Regions from separate parts of the Homo sapiens genome. Here all the other regions are linked to region 2. The links are contacts of gene promoters, found by promoter capture Hi-C in human tissues and cell types (Jung and others, 2019). All regions are on one chromosome and are shown on one strand. The core of a region is centred on a gene start or on the middle of the fragment in contact, and the rest is flanking DNA. Distances in the headings are between cores, read along the strand shown. Region 1 overlaps SCEL (sciellin). Region 2 holds the start of SCEL (sciellin). Region 3 has its middle 44 kb from the start of SCEL.

Region 1 (4,204 bases), core at 1,540-4,039, 61 kb before region 2:
GCCATCTTTATCTGTCCGGGTACTCATATAGATGAGACTTTCAAGGCTTTTGGCTCTGAAAACACAAAGAAATTCACATAAAAGGCTGCATACTGAAATGAAATTGTGTGGTATCTTGAAAGGTCAAATGCAATAAACATTCTCCATGAATTGCTCATTTACTCTTATTGAATGGAAGAGCAGAAATCCTTCTGGGTAATTATGTCTGAACTAAATGTACAATGCTGAGAGCACTACCCCATCTGCCAGTACATTTCCATGCCAGAGGATACAACCCCCTTGCAGCTAATGTCTGAGGGAATAAGACGAGCAATCTGCAAGGTAAGATTTTCATATTTGAGACAGATGCACTTACCTTTTCTCTCTTTCTTCTACCTTTGGATTTGCTCTGAAGAGACTATCAAGACCTTGATTCCTTTAAATGTATTGATTTAAAAAAGCCTCATCAGTGATAATGACCAATGCTTAACTCTATAAGAACATAGACCAGTTTACATCTAAGACAGGAAACAGAAGCTTGTTGGGGAAGATGAGCTACAATTCTTGAAATAGGTATATTCATAGACTCAAATTTTAAATTGCAGTGGGCCTTAGAGAAAACAAAATAAAAGATATAAACTGGGGATCTGTCAACCACAATAGGTCTATAGAGGTGTTACTTGGATTCATGGAGCATTTCTACCCTTTTAGCTTTCAAGCGTGGGCTTTAAAGTGAGCCCATGTTACAATGATGGTCAGGACACACAGAAACCTGAATTTTCAGGCTAGGTGTAGTGGCTTATGCCTGTAATCCCAGTACTTTGGGAGGCCAAGGTGGAAGGATCACCTGATCCCAGGAGCCCGAGACCAACCTGGGCAACATGGTCTGACCCCATCTCTACAAAAAAATTAAAACTTAGCCAGGCATGGTGGTGGTGCCTGTAGTCCCAGCTACTTGGGAGGTTGAGGTGGGAAGATTGCTTGAGTCCAGGAAATGGAGGCTGCAGTGAGCTATGATTGTATCACTGCACTCCAGCCTGGGCGACAGAGCGAGACCCTGTCTCTAAAACGAATGAACAAACAAACAACAAAACTGGATTTTCAGGATCTCCTGAGAATGCCCTGCTGTCCTGCAACACTAGACTCAGTGGAGACCCTCAGCTGGAGCTGAGCTGAGAAGCAGCTGTGTGCTCAGACAGGGCATTTGCTCTCCTTTTGGCCGCAGTTATCACAGTCAGTCTCCTCACCCACTCACACCTGCCTGGTCTCAGCGGGCCGTGGAGTCTGTGACTCCTGATCTAAAACCTCCTCTCCTTGTAAATGAGGAAACTGAAGAGCAGCAGATTAAGTGATCATTATTGCCAGAACAGGATAGGAAAAACACATCTCGGGATCCTCTGATCAATGAATTCATTTGGCATTTCCCTGTTTTCTCCTTCTCTTTGATCACTGTTTAGTGGGTTAGTATGCAAAGTAATAGAGAGCTTGCTTACATTATACTTACCACAAACACAAGCCTTGATTATTCATTTTTCTCTCTTGGCATATTTCAAGTTATACAATTATAAATGATTCAAAACAAGAAGATACAGCCTGGGCAACATAGTGAGACCCCATCTCTACAAAAAATTAAAAATTAGCCACACGTGGTGGCACAGGCCTGTAGTCCCAGCTACTTGGGAGGCTGAGGCAAGAGGATGGCTAGCGGCCAGGAGGTCAAGGCTGCAGTGAGTTATGATTGCACCACTGCACTCCAGCCTGGGTAAGAGAGTAAGACTCTGTCTCAAAAAATAATAATAAACAATATAACATTAACTATGATAATAAAATGTTTTTTGTAATGGTTAAACTAAAATTATTCCATGATCAAACCAAATTCTGTTTACATTTTAGTTAATTAATATTTCAGGAAGAGAAAAGTGGTTATTTATATAACTGCCTTAATAAACAAATGGCGTATGAAAATCAAGAACACTTTCATATTAGTATCTTCAGACTTTAATAACCATTCATCATAACAATGAAATGATGATGATTGCTGCAAGCTTTTATTCAAGATTTGTAGGATATTTTTGACTACCCTGGTATGTGGGTCCTCACGCTCAAAGACTGGAAAGGCATAAAAAGTCACAATATGCAACTCAGTAATAAAAGATAAACATTTAAAAATCTTACCTATTCAAGCTTTTGTTCATTTTGATGAGATTATCCAATTCTTCACTTTGGGAAGAGAAAAAAATGTTTAACATTAGTAAAAAGCTTGCCCAGGGTCAAAGGGTAAATTTGCCTTAAAATGACAGTTCTCTGAAATACAACACATCCCACTTTTATCATCTGCGAAAATCCTGATGATCCTCAAAGCTCGCATCCAACACCACTTTCTCCAGAAAGCCTTTCCTAGTCCTCTAACTGAATAGAGTCCTCTACATTTTTGGAGCCCTTGCAGCATTTGTTTTTTCTGCACCTGCTTTATGACAGTTCTGTGACTATACTTTGAGTTATAGCCATTGCACACTGGTCTCATGTTAATGCTCCTACCTCAGCACAGGCACACATATGCACACCACTTAAAATTTAGAACTGTATTTTACATCAGACACACTTCTGTGTTTTAATACAGTGTTCATACAGTAGATACTTAATACCCACTTTTAATTGAGTCCACACATAGGTACACTGATTAATTACAGCATTGTGCAATGTACTTGCACACGTAGCTTCTAGAAAACATTTGTTCATCAGTAAGTCTGGCTTCCTTCTTGAGCTCTGCTACTTCATTTCCAGGTCAGCTAAATTTGCTAGCCTGTTTCCACATTTGACAACTGCAAAGCCTTTTCTGGCTGCTGCTTCAGGAGCAACCTATTTAAATACTTAGGTTCAGGAATTCTATTTAAACCACATGGGTTCAACTTTCTCCCCTAAGCAGGCAGCCTAGGTGAGGTGGGGTGGGGGTTTCACCACAGTGCTATTGGTTTCTTCCTCTAGTTCCCTGTCACAGCATGTCCTTTCTCCAACTTTTCTATTCATGACCTACCCCCGACCACACACACACACACACACACACACACACACACACCTTGCCCCACCTCTCTTGCCTTCCTCAGCAAGTTTTTCTGTTCACAAATCAGTAGTTACGCATTCAAGTTTCCTTGTTAAGGACACATGGAGTACGATCCAGGACTCATCACTTATTCATTGGTGAATCTGGGTGAGTTACCTAACCTTCTGTGGACTTAATTTTCCCATTTGTAAAATGAGAATACTAATCATACCCACCTCAGAAAAGATTCATAAGCTCATGAATATAAAGTATTTAGCACAATGCCTAACAAGTCATAAATTCCTGATTAATTTGGGCCATTATAATAAATAATGCCCTGTCATTACTAAATTTTTTGTTTAATAAATGCTTGCTATACTTTTTTTTTTTTAAGACAGAGTTTCACTCTTGTTGCCCAAACTGGAGTTCAATGGCATGATCTTGGCTCACTGCAACCTCCGCCTCCCAGGTTCAAGCAATTCTCCTGCCTCAGCCTCCCAAGTAGCTGGGACTAAAGGTGTGCACCACCATGCCCAGCTAATTTTTGTAGTTTTAGTAGAGATGGGGTTTCACCATGTTTGCCAAGCTGGTCTTGAACTCCTTACCTCAGGTGATCTGCCCACCTCAGCCTCCCAAAGTGCTGGGATTACAGGTGTGAGCCACCACGCCCAACCTAGTAAATGCTTGCTATACTTATTTTTTAATTGCACTTAGAAACACCAAGACTTCGACTTAGCCTTTAGAGAGAGATGCAATTGCTAAGTCACTTATGTGCTTGAAGATGCCTGGCACGATGACACTATAGCAAGAATAGCTGCTGAGGGTAGTCCTCTTAGAGACCCTAAATTAACAGCCAGTACATAGGTGAATCCTGTCAAGTAGTTTTAGGTATCAATGGTAGAATTGTTGCCTGAGAATAAATACTGAAATACAAAAGTTGCTGCCTCTAACAACAACAAAAAAATTAATGCTCTATCCTTGTGTGTGACAAACACTACCCAGTCCCTTGACACAGTAACCCATTACTGTTTCTTGCTTGATATTCTACCCACTAACTCTGAGACTAACAATCTGTTCATGTCCCCAAGGGAAAGAGCAAACCCACGAGTCCTATAAATTTTAGCCCCAGGCTTTCCTGACTGGCATGAGTCACAATGATGAGATTATCAGGATTTGGAGTTGCTT
Region 2 (4,478 bases), core at 253-2,752:
GATTTATACGACGCTAACATTCCAATAAAAATTCTGGCCTGTTGTTGGCATTCTATGCATATCCCGACATTTAGGATCATCTGAATGTTTTACTAAAATTTTTACTGTTGTCATTTCTCAGTTTTCTCAAATTGATGTTTCCAATACTTTAAACACTGGAGCACCACATATATTAGGAAGGCTTTATCTACGTTATAAACTATGGAAGTGAAAGACAGTTTTAAATGTAATCACATTTTATGAAAAATAAAATTATCCACACTTGCTACACTTTAGTTTTCTGGTTACTATAAACACTTGAAAGCCAAGTTGTAAAATTCTTCTGTAAACCTTTGGGAAATGAGCACTGGTGTGTCTAACCCCCTCTCAGACTGCAGGTGACCTTGTCAGCAATAGGAAGCCATGAGAACTCAAGTACTACAGATAGAGCCAGGTATGCTGTGGGGGCACCTCTCTGGAGGACACAGAGCTGCAATTTGCAAGCTGTGAGTGGCCCCTGCATTTGAATCCCACAGCTCTGTATCATAAATAGAAATGATGAGAAAAAACACAAGTCAGCTTAGCTATTAATTATAAAAGAAAGCTCTGTTAAAAGAACTCTTCTAGCCTTATCAAAAGTCTCCCAAAACTGGTTTTTCAGGACTAGGCTATGAATAAAGTTTGAAAATTGCCCCCATATACATTAATCACTCCTTAGGTTAGAATGCAGAATATACCATAGAGAAGTTGGCCAGATGCCCACAGATCCCTGTGAGGAACCATGTACCCTTATTCTGCTCCCACACCCTGCCTTTACTCCTTGGTACTTTCAAGTGAGAAATGGTGATTTTCTTATTTGGGGAAGATAGGGTGGAGACAAAAACCTCATAAATATAAACCTCTCTCTCTCTCATAGCTCAGCAACTTGCAATATTTTTAGCAGTAGAGAAAAAAATAAATATGACTTATTAACTATAAAGCAATATTTGAGTTCACTATTTCACTAAAAGCATCATTTATGAAAACAGAAAGATCCTTTAAAAAATGTTTGTATAGTCGCTTGAGAAAATAAACCAGCAGGTGCTGGTCCCTTCACTTAAAGAATTTATTATCCTTTGTGTGGCAGGATTCACCAGCTGACAGCTCCCACCCAGAAAATCAAATAGGTGCTCGTTTCTGTGATGCCCATAACGTGTAAAATTGCCAAGAAGTTCAATGCAATGTGACCTAAAAGTACAGCAAGGAAGAGCAGAGCTAACAGCCAGCTGGAGGCTGTCAAAATTTACAGGAAGAAAAGACAAAGATAATACAGTAAGTTCTAATTTTAATCATTTGTAAGGAACACAGAGAAAGCTGTGCACATACAGCAGATGTATTTCTGTTTGCAAGTATAATTCAACTTACCTCTATTGAGCAGAAAATCAGGACTTTTTGGCTAACCAGCCTGTAGTGATTCCCTGGGAGGATCTGGCTGAAAGAAATGGGAACCTAGAGTTTATTCAGTGGAGTCTCAACCTCTACCTGACTGTATTAGTGAACAGTTCAGAGGTTTCTTGCTCAGCGGCTGAGTCACTCAGGGAGGAGGTGTGTGGTATGCAACAGGGTGTCACCTTGTACAAATACCAGTTCAATTAAAGCATTCTCACTCATATACCTACTGTCTTTGTTTGAATTCTTTGTTTAACTTATGGCCTTATGCAAAAAAAAAAAAAACATATATATATATATGCTCCTGTGATCACCCTTTTAACTGATATCAACAGTATGCACAACCATATCACTGACAAGGTGGCATAGGACCCAACCTATTTTGTATTCTCTTTCAAAAAATAAAATTGAAAACTCAAGATAGAAGGAACCCCCATACACCCATAGTACCTGGAAGGCAGGGGCACAGACAAGCATGCAAGGAGTATATGGCTTAAAGGAATCTTCAAGACAAACAAATTCTCAGAAACCCAGGAACCCTAGGATTAGAAAACACAAAAGAAGTCTGTTCCACACATTCTACACCTAGACTATTTTGTAAAACTATCAGAGGGAAAATACACCTAGCATGTAAGAATTCTAATCTCTATCTTATTTATCCATGTATAAAAAAATGTGAAAAGGGGCCAGGCGTGGTGGCTCACATCTGTAATCCCAGGACTTTGGGCGGTGGAAGCAGGCGGATCACCTGAGGTCAGCAGTTCAAGATCAGCCTGGCCAACATGGTAAAACCTGATCTCTACTAAAAATATAAAAATTAGCTGGGCGTGATGGCACACACCTGTAACCCCAGCTATATTAAATAACTATAACACACCATGATAAAGTCATATACAGAAATTTTCAATGCCAGGCATCGCATAGTGGAGAGAAGGAAGAACCTGGAAGGTGATGTTGATGCAGAGTTTTAAAGTCTGAGTGGACAATGATTAGATGGTCAAGAAGAAGAAGAACCATTCATCCACTCTGGCAGGAGGAGGCAGGAGAATCACTTGAACCAGGGAAGTGGAGGTTACAGTGAGCCAAGATCACACCACTGCACTCTAGCCTAGGCAACAGAGTGAGACTGTCTCAGAAAAAAAAAAAAAATGTGAAAAGGATGGTTGAAACTTCTTTCAATGCTGAGGGCAGCAGTAGACCCAACATCAAAGGCTGCTTCTGGCCAGTTGCAGTGGCTTTCACTTGCACTTTGGGAGGCCAAGGTGGGAGGATCACTTGAGCCAAGAAGTTCGAGACAAACTGGGCAACACAGTAAGAGAAGATCTCATCTCTACTAAAAATAAAAAAATCAGCTGGGTGTGGTAGTGCATGTCTTTGGTCCCAGTTACTCAGGAGGCTGAGGCAAAGAGAGTCTCTTGAGCATGGGAGGACCAAGCCACAGTGAGCTGTGATCACACCACCGCATTCCAGTATGGGTGACAGAGTGAGACCCTATCTCAAAAAACAAAACAAACAGACAAAAAAAACAAAAAAAACCCAACAAAAAACAAAGGCTGCTTCCGCTGGGAGGAAGGAGTAACACTGAAGAGCCATTCTAGGCGGGGACTCCTGTTACAGGTTTTGAAACACACCTTCCCTAAGAGCCAAAGAGGCTTTAAAGAAGCTTAGCAAACATTGTTGAGAGAAGCCACGTCATCAGAACTTCCTGGGTGATCGTCATTCATATGTCACACCAGCAATGAACCAAATCCCCCCTGAACAACTGCTCCTGAAAACTACAATGCAGCTGAGTGACGCCCACTGAAATGACTGTAACAAGAAGCAGAAACCCAGACTGAAGAGCAAGGCAATTGCAGTATGTGGTCATTGTGACTGGGAGACCACTTCCTGTATGTTCCCTGATGTTCCCTTATTCTGGGCTGAGGAATTTGAAAATCTAAAATGGAAAATGTTCTTTCAAAGTAAAACATATATACGTGTCTACTCAGCTTTTTTATGGAATTTTATACATGCAAAATATTTTTAAAATATGCTTTAAGTTTCTGTGATGCCCAAAAATCTTGGTTTGAATATTAATATTACAAATGATAAAGCTGAAAAACAAAGACGTGACTTAACTCAAAAGATAAACTAGAAGCAATCTTCAGCCTTAGAACTTAGCCAAAAAGAAAGAAAACAGTTTAAGAGCTCCCTTGTAGGGATAAGTTGTAATTTACATTACAGAATGTTGAAATATATTACTTCATGAAACACAGAACCAGAAAGATAAGTTTTTATCTTATAATGAAGTAAAGTGCAGCTACTCAAGTTATGGATTTTGAGCTTCCAAGCAATTATTTCTGCATGCAATTAAGGGTTTCTCTTACTTTATACATCAGACCATCCACACTGCTAAGCCAAACCAGTGTTTTTTCATTTAGAATCAAATCTCTAGTATAAAAAGGGACTAATTCTAAACCATTGAGCAAAATTCAGACCTCTTCATGCTGAGCAGACATGACTGCCTAAAATTTAAAATCTCAAATGTGAAGAGGTTGAATCAAGAACGTTTTCGGGTGTGGAGGTAGCCAAATAGCCTGAGCATTAGTTTCACTCAGGTGTTTAACTGGGAAGACTTGGGCATGCTTGGAATAACTTGGCTTCACCACACCTATTCACTTTCAGTGTTGGAGTTCTTAAGATCTCTCTAGAACTGTAAGCTCAGAAGCTGAAATGCCAAATGGGTTTTATCTCAGGTACAAATGCCAATTGATTGGTGATGGCTTCCTGGAGGAATATGTTGAGGTTTGTAAGCAAGTAGGGACTCAACAAGGGAATGTCCATGGTTAATTAGCAATATCCACCACAGGTCTTGAATGGGGGAATGTTTTCTGACCCTGTCTCATAAAATTAGATGTTGCAACATCACATTGCTTTGTCTATGTGTTATATCCAAAGAAACAACCAGCCAAAATGAGCACCGTTTTTTTGAGTTTAGGTTCACAGCAAAATTCAGAATAAACAACAAAGAGTTCATGTATACCCTCAGTGTCCCCATTACCAACATCCCACATCACAGTGGGACATTTGTT
Region 3 (4,109 bases), core at 804-3,303, 44 kb after region 2:
TAAAAGTGAACACACTCCGTATAACTGAACTAATGGTTTCTGAAACAAATGTACTGAAAGATAAGCCTTTGCACCATTCTTCTCTTGCTGTACTATGATTCACTGAAACCATCCTGAATAAACAGATTTTAATTTTGGTTTAGATTCCAACACCCAGCAGGCTACCCCACTGATTAATGATGATAAAACTAAGCAGAAAGGGAAGCCATTCATGAAACAAACAATATAACCATCAATCAAGCTCACAGCTGATAATATTCAGATACTGAATAGTACTTGACTCTCTAGCACCACTCCATGGAGACCTGCTGAGCAGCTAAGTGCTTTAAAATTAATAACAAGATCAGCAGTGCAAAGGTTGATGGTGTCAATGGGGATGAGGACTCAAGGATATAATGCAGTATTTACGGATCATCCATGATGAGCTAGTTTCTCTACAATGCATGCTTAGTTTAAATCCTATATTAGGATTTAAGCTTCTATATTAGAAGTACAAATACTTCTTTCTCTGACACGCATCTGCCTCCTGCATCAGTCATATGGGGAAGTTAAATGGAGACCGTTGCATCTTTTGTTTTTGTTTTTGTTTTTTTGTTTGTTTGTTTCTTGAGATGGAGTCTCGCTCTGTCGCCCAGGCTGGAGTGCAGTGGCACGATCTTGGCTCACTGCAAGCTCCGTCTCCTGTGTTCACACCATTCTCCTGCCTAACCTCCTGAGTAGCTGGGACTACAGGCGCCCGCCACCACACCTGGCTAATTTTTTGTATTTTTAGTAGAGACAGGGTTTCACCGTGTTAGCCAGGATGGTCTCGATCTCCTGACCTCGTGATCCGCCCGCCTCGGCCTCCCAAAGTGCTGGGATTACAGGTGTGAGCTACCACGCCTGGCCGACCCTTGCATCTTTTAAGTCCCTACTGGTAAATTTTTGGTTCCTTCAGCCAAGTAAAATTGTTTTCCATTTACTACTTTATGTATTTGGTGTTGTGTATTACTACATTATTTATTCAATCTATGTCTACACTGGGCACCACAAGAATCCCAGCCCTATTTCCCTCTATTCTAATCCCAATTGGCTCCATGAGAAATGAAGAATTCCTCACTCCTCACCCCACCCCTAATTTATTTTTGCCAGGACATTAAATCACTACCTGACACACCATATATTTCACCTGTTAATTTTTCTTCCTCTAAAATTTTCACTCCACTAAGGCAGAAAATTTTGGTTGGTTGGTTCACTAAAATATTACCAGTCCCCAGTGTCTGACACACAGTAGGCAATCAATAAAAATTGTTCAAATGAATGAACAGATGAATGAATGGTATTCCCAGGAACTAGCTTAATTCTAGTTTAACTCTGAGCAACTGTTGTATTACCCCTAAAAGGTCTAGACATTTCTCTTTCCCAATGCACAGTCATCCCAATAGCTGAAGGTCCCTTTGCAGAAGGCTGGAAGAAATATGCTTATGTGATATGAACACAGAGTTCTTTTTCAAGAGTACCTAGGCATCCTTTTAGTATCTGAAAATTTAAGTTTGGAAATTGGTAAAAGGCCAACACTTTCTTATGTGGTTTGAATTTAGGTCCCTGATGGCCATACCTAGAGTCTTTGAGTTTTGGTTGGTGTTAGTATTATTTTAGAAATCAAATATTCTCTTGCTGGGTTGTACATATAATTTATTTCTAGGACACCAATGACTGATTAGCAAATGTCAAAGATTTCTAGGGTTAGACCATTTTGACGACACACTGACTCCCCCTCCACCTTCTCCACATCTGCCCAGACCCATTTGCGTCCAATGTTTAAGTGCTGCTATGGGGCTTCTGCTACTCTGGGATCCTAGTATCCCAGTGAAATCAGAGAGCTCATTTCAGCTGTGTCTCCTCTCACTGCATTCTAGATCCACAAAGAACATCCTCTATAGGGATTTTTTTAATGCTGGAATTCTCTTCACCAATGAATTTCTCAATGCATGCATCAACAAGGCCTTGGAGCCAGAGTTAAGAATTAAGAAATTGATGGCACACAAAAAAATTCCCTCCCACTTTCCTACATCTGTTTCATTTCTTCCTTTATAGTATAACACAAATATCTAGGCCACCGCTGAGTCCAAGTTTCATCAGTTGACCACAATAAGTAACTACAATCAACCCCAGTTGAATATTGTGTTCAACCTAGTCACAATCTAGGTACCCGCACCTAGATTGTATATAGATGAGGTGCAGGTACATATATTGACATATCGTACTTGATCTCAATCACAGTCCTCCCACTTTAGTCAACATCCTCAGAATTTATTGCCACGTGCATCAGCCAGATTTTTGCAAACATAGCAGCAAAATTTTGTAAATTTGGGGAGTTTGACTTTAAAATAGGCTCTGGGACATGCCTACCTTGGTTGCAGGGGAGGACAGTGCACTGGCATGGGAAGATTTACACACTGAGCAACCCAACTTCTCTCACGTCTCCACCCTGTGTTGGCACCTACTTAATACCCTATGTCAGAGCCCCAACTTTGATCTAAGAGGCTAGAAAAGGTTATACATTGATGTAAAGAAGCAACTTGGAGGATAAATCTTTGAGTGTGGGTTCCAATTCAGCACTATCTTAGAAAGAGACTAGTTTTCAGTGGGTGGCTTGAGCTGAGAGTTGAAGACTTTCAGTTTGTCATTTTCTGCCATTGAAGTGTCCATTGCTTAACTCTACAATCCTTGAATTCCTCCACACCCTTCAACCACTCTCTTGCAGCATACATTTTTCCTCCCAAACCTAGCATTCAAGGGGGCTATCACCCGAGTGGACACAAGTGATCATTTGATTAACTGTTTTGTTTTGTTTTGTTTTTTCTTCACAAATTTCGATGGATGCTCAGGTTCAGTTTCTTAATATCAACCTGATTTCCAATTCCCCTTAAACCCTACCAAGACAGAGAATAAAGTACAGTTTCCCTCCTGTTTTCCTGAATAACTGTTGCCTACAACTTCTGGCACAATTTTCAGTCACAGTCAGGACTTTTAGATGCAAATAATAGAAACTGACCCTGGTTAATTAAAGCAGAAACAGAAACTATTTAAAAGATGTTGGATAGCCCATATATTCTCTGGGAGGGCTAGAGAAGCAAACTTATGGATTTTACAGCTGGAAACAATTCCCACAGTCAAACCACAAGACTTATCAGGTAAAGACATTGGAACTCCTGCTGGACCCAGACAGCACAGCACCTTCCAGCAGCCAGTGACCAGACCCTGGGTGCTGCTGCAGGAACTCTACTGCCACTGCTGCCTTTGAGAACCAAATATGGTTGCCGCCTCCACCCCCAAATGTTGTCCAAATATATTCTGGGTGGTGTGTGCTTCCTTGTGTCCCAGTTTCTCATAGTCTCGAGAGAAGATGGATCTGATTGGCAGAGCCCAGCCCCATGCCTTAACAGCAAGAACCCTGGAGAGGTGAGTAGCTGGATGGCATCAGAGGGAGAGCATTTCCCAAACATAGAGAGTGGGTTCTGATACCTGGATGGCAAAAAAGAAATTGGTAAATCTCCATCATACTGGCTTTATGAGAAATGATAAGGTCTGTGAATACAGACAGCCCCAGTTTCAATTTGTGCACTTTCTTCACTTTCTATTTGACATTGGGCAAGTTCATCTCTCCGAGCTTTGTTTTTTCTCGTAAGTAAAAACCTTCCCTTGCAGAAATTAAAAAGTAAGTTATGTGGATAAGATAATTCAAAAAGTGAAAGCTATTACTTGAAAAGATAATTGAGATATATATAATATTTTGTGAGGCCTCATCTTGGTAAAATATTCAACTTTTCATATATTTATGCCTATTCTCCCTAACTAGAGGATCATGTTTTATACTAGTTTGTATGTTTTATACTAGTTTGTATTTCCGCAGAGCAGTAAACACACAGATACATACGTGTGCACTTAATAAATGAACTAATATCCCAGATTATAAAATAAAATGAGAAATAGCGAACACTGATGCAAAAAACTGAAGAGGATACAAAAAAATGGAAAGCTATTCCATATTCATGGATTGGAAGAATTAATATTGTTAAAATGTTTATACCACCCAAAGCAATCTACAGATTGAATGTCATCTCCAT

Evidence for each region. Contacts are between HindIII fragments. The study calls those that stand out against the background at their distance.
Region 1: a contact is called between a fragment that was not itself captured here and the fragment with the promoter of SCEL in region 2, in 2 of the 25 tissues and cell types used here (lymphoblastoid cells and thymus).
Region 3: a fragment that was not itself captured here is called in contact with the fragment with the promoter of SCEL in region 2 in 3 of the 25 tissues and cell types used here (lymphoblastoid cells, mesendoderm cells and stomach).

Annotation. Positions count from the first base shown.
Region 1 is chr13:77,595,540-77,599,743 of GRCh38, reverse strand. It overlaps SCEL (sciellin), which reads right to left. Exons shown (of 33, transcript NM_144777.3): 13 at 2,155-2,199; 14 at 356-415; 15 at 1-55. Among named protein-coding and RNA genes, the nearest start is that of SCEL-AS1, 8.9 kb to the left of the region's middle. The HindIII fragment of the contact is 3,038 bases long and covers 1,271-4,204 here.
Region 2 is chr13:77,532,730-77,537,207 of GRCh38, reverse strand. SCEL (sciellin) reads right to left here and starts at 1,502. Exons shown (of 33, transcript NM_144777.3): 1 at 1,384-1,502. The HindIII fragment of the contact is 8,761 bases long and covers 1-4,478 here.
Region 3 is chr13:77,489,252-77,493,360 of GRCh38, reverse strand. No RefSeq gene overlaps it. Among named protein-coding and RNA genes, the nearest start is that of SCEL, 44 kb to the left of the region's middle. The HindIII fragment of the contact is 6,349 bases long and covers 1-4,109 here.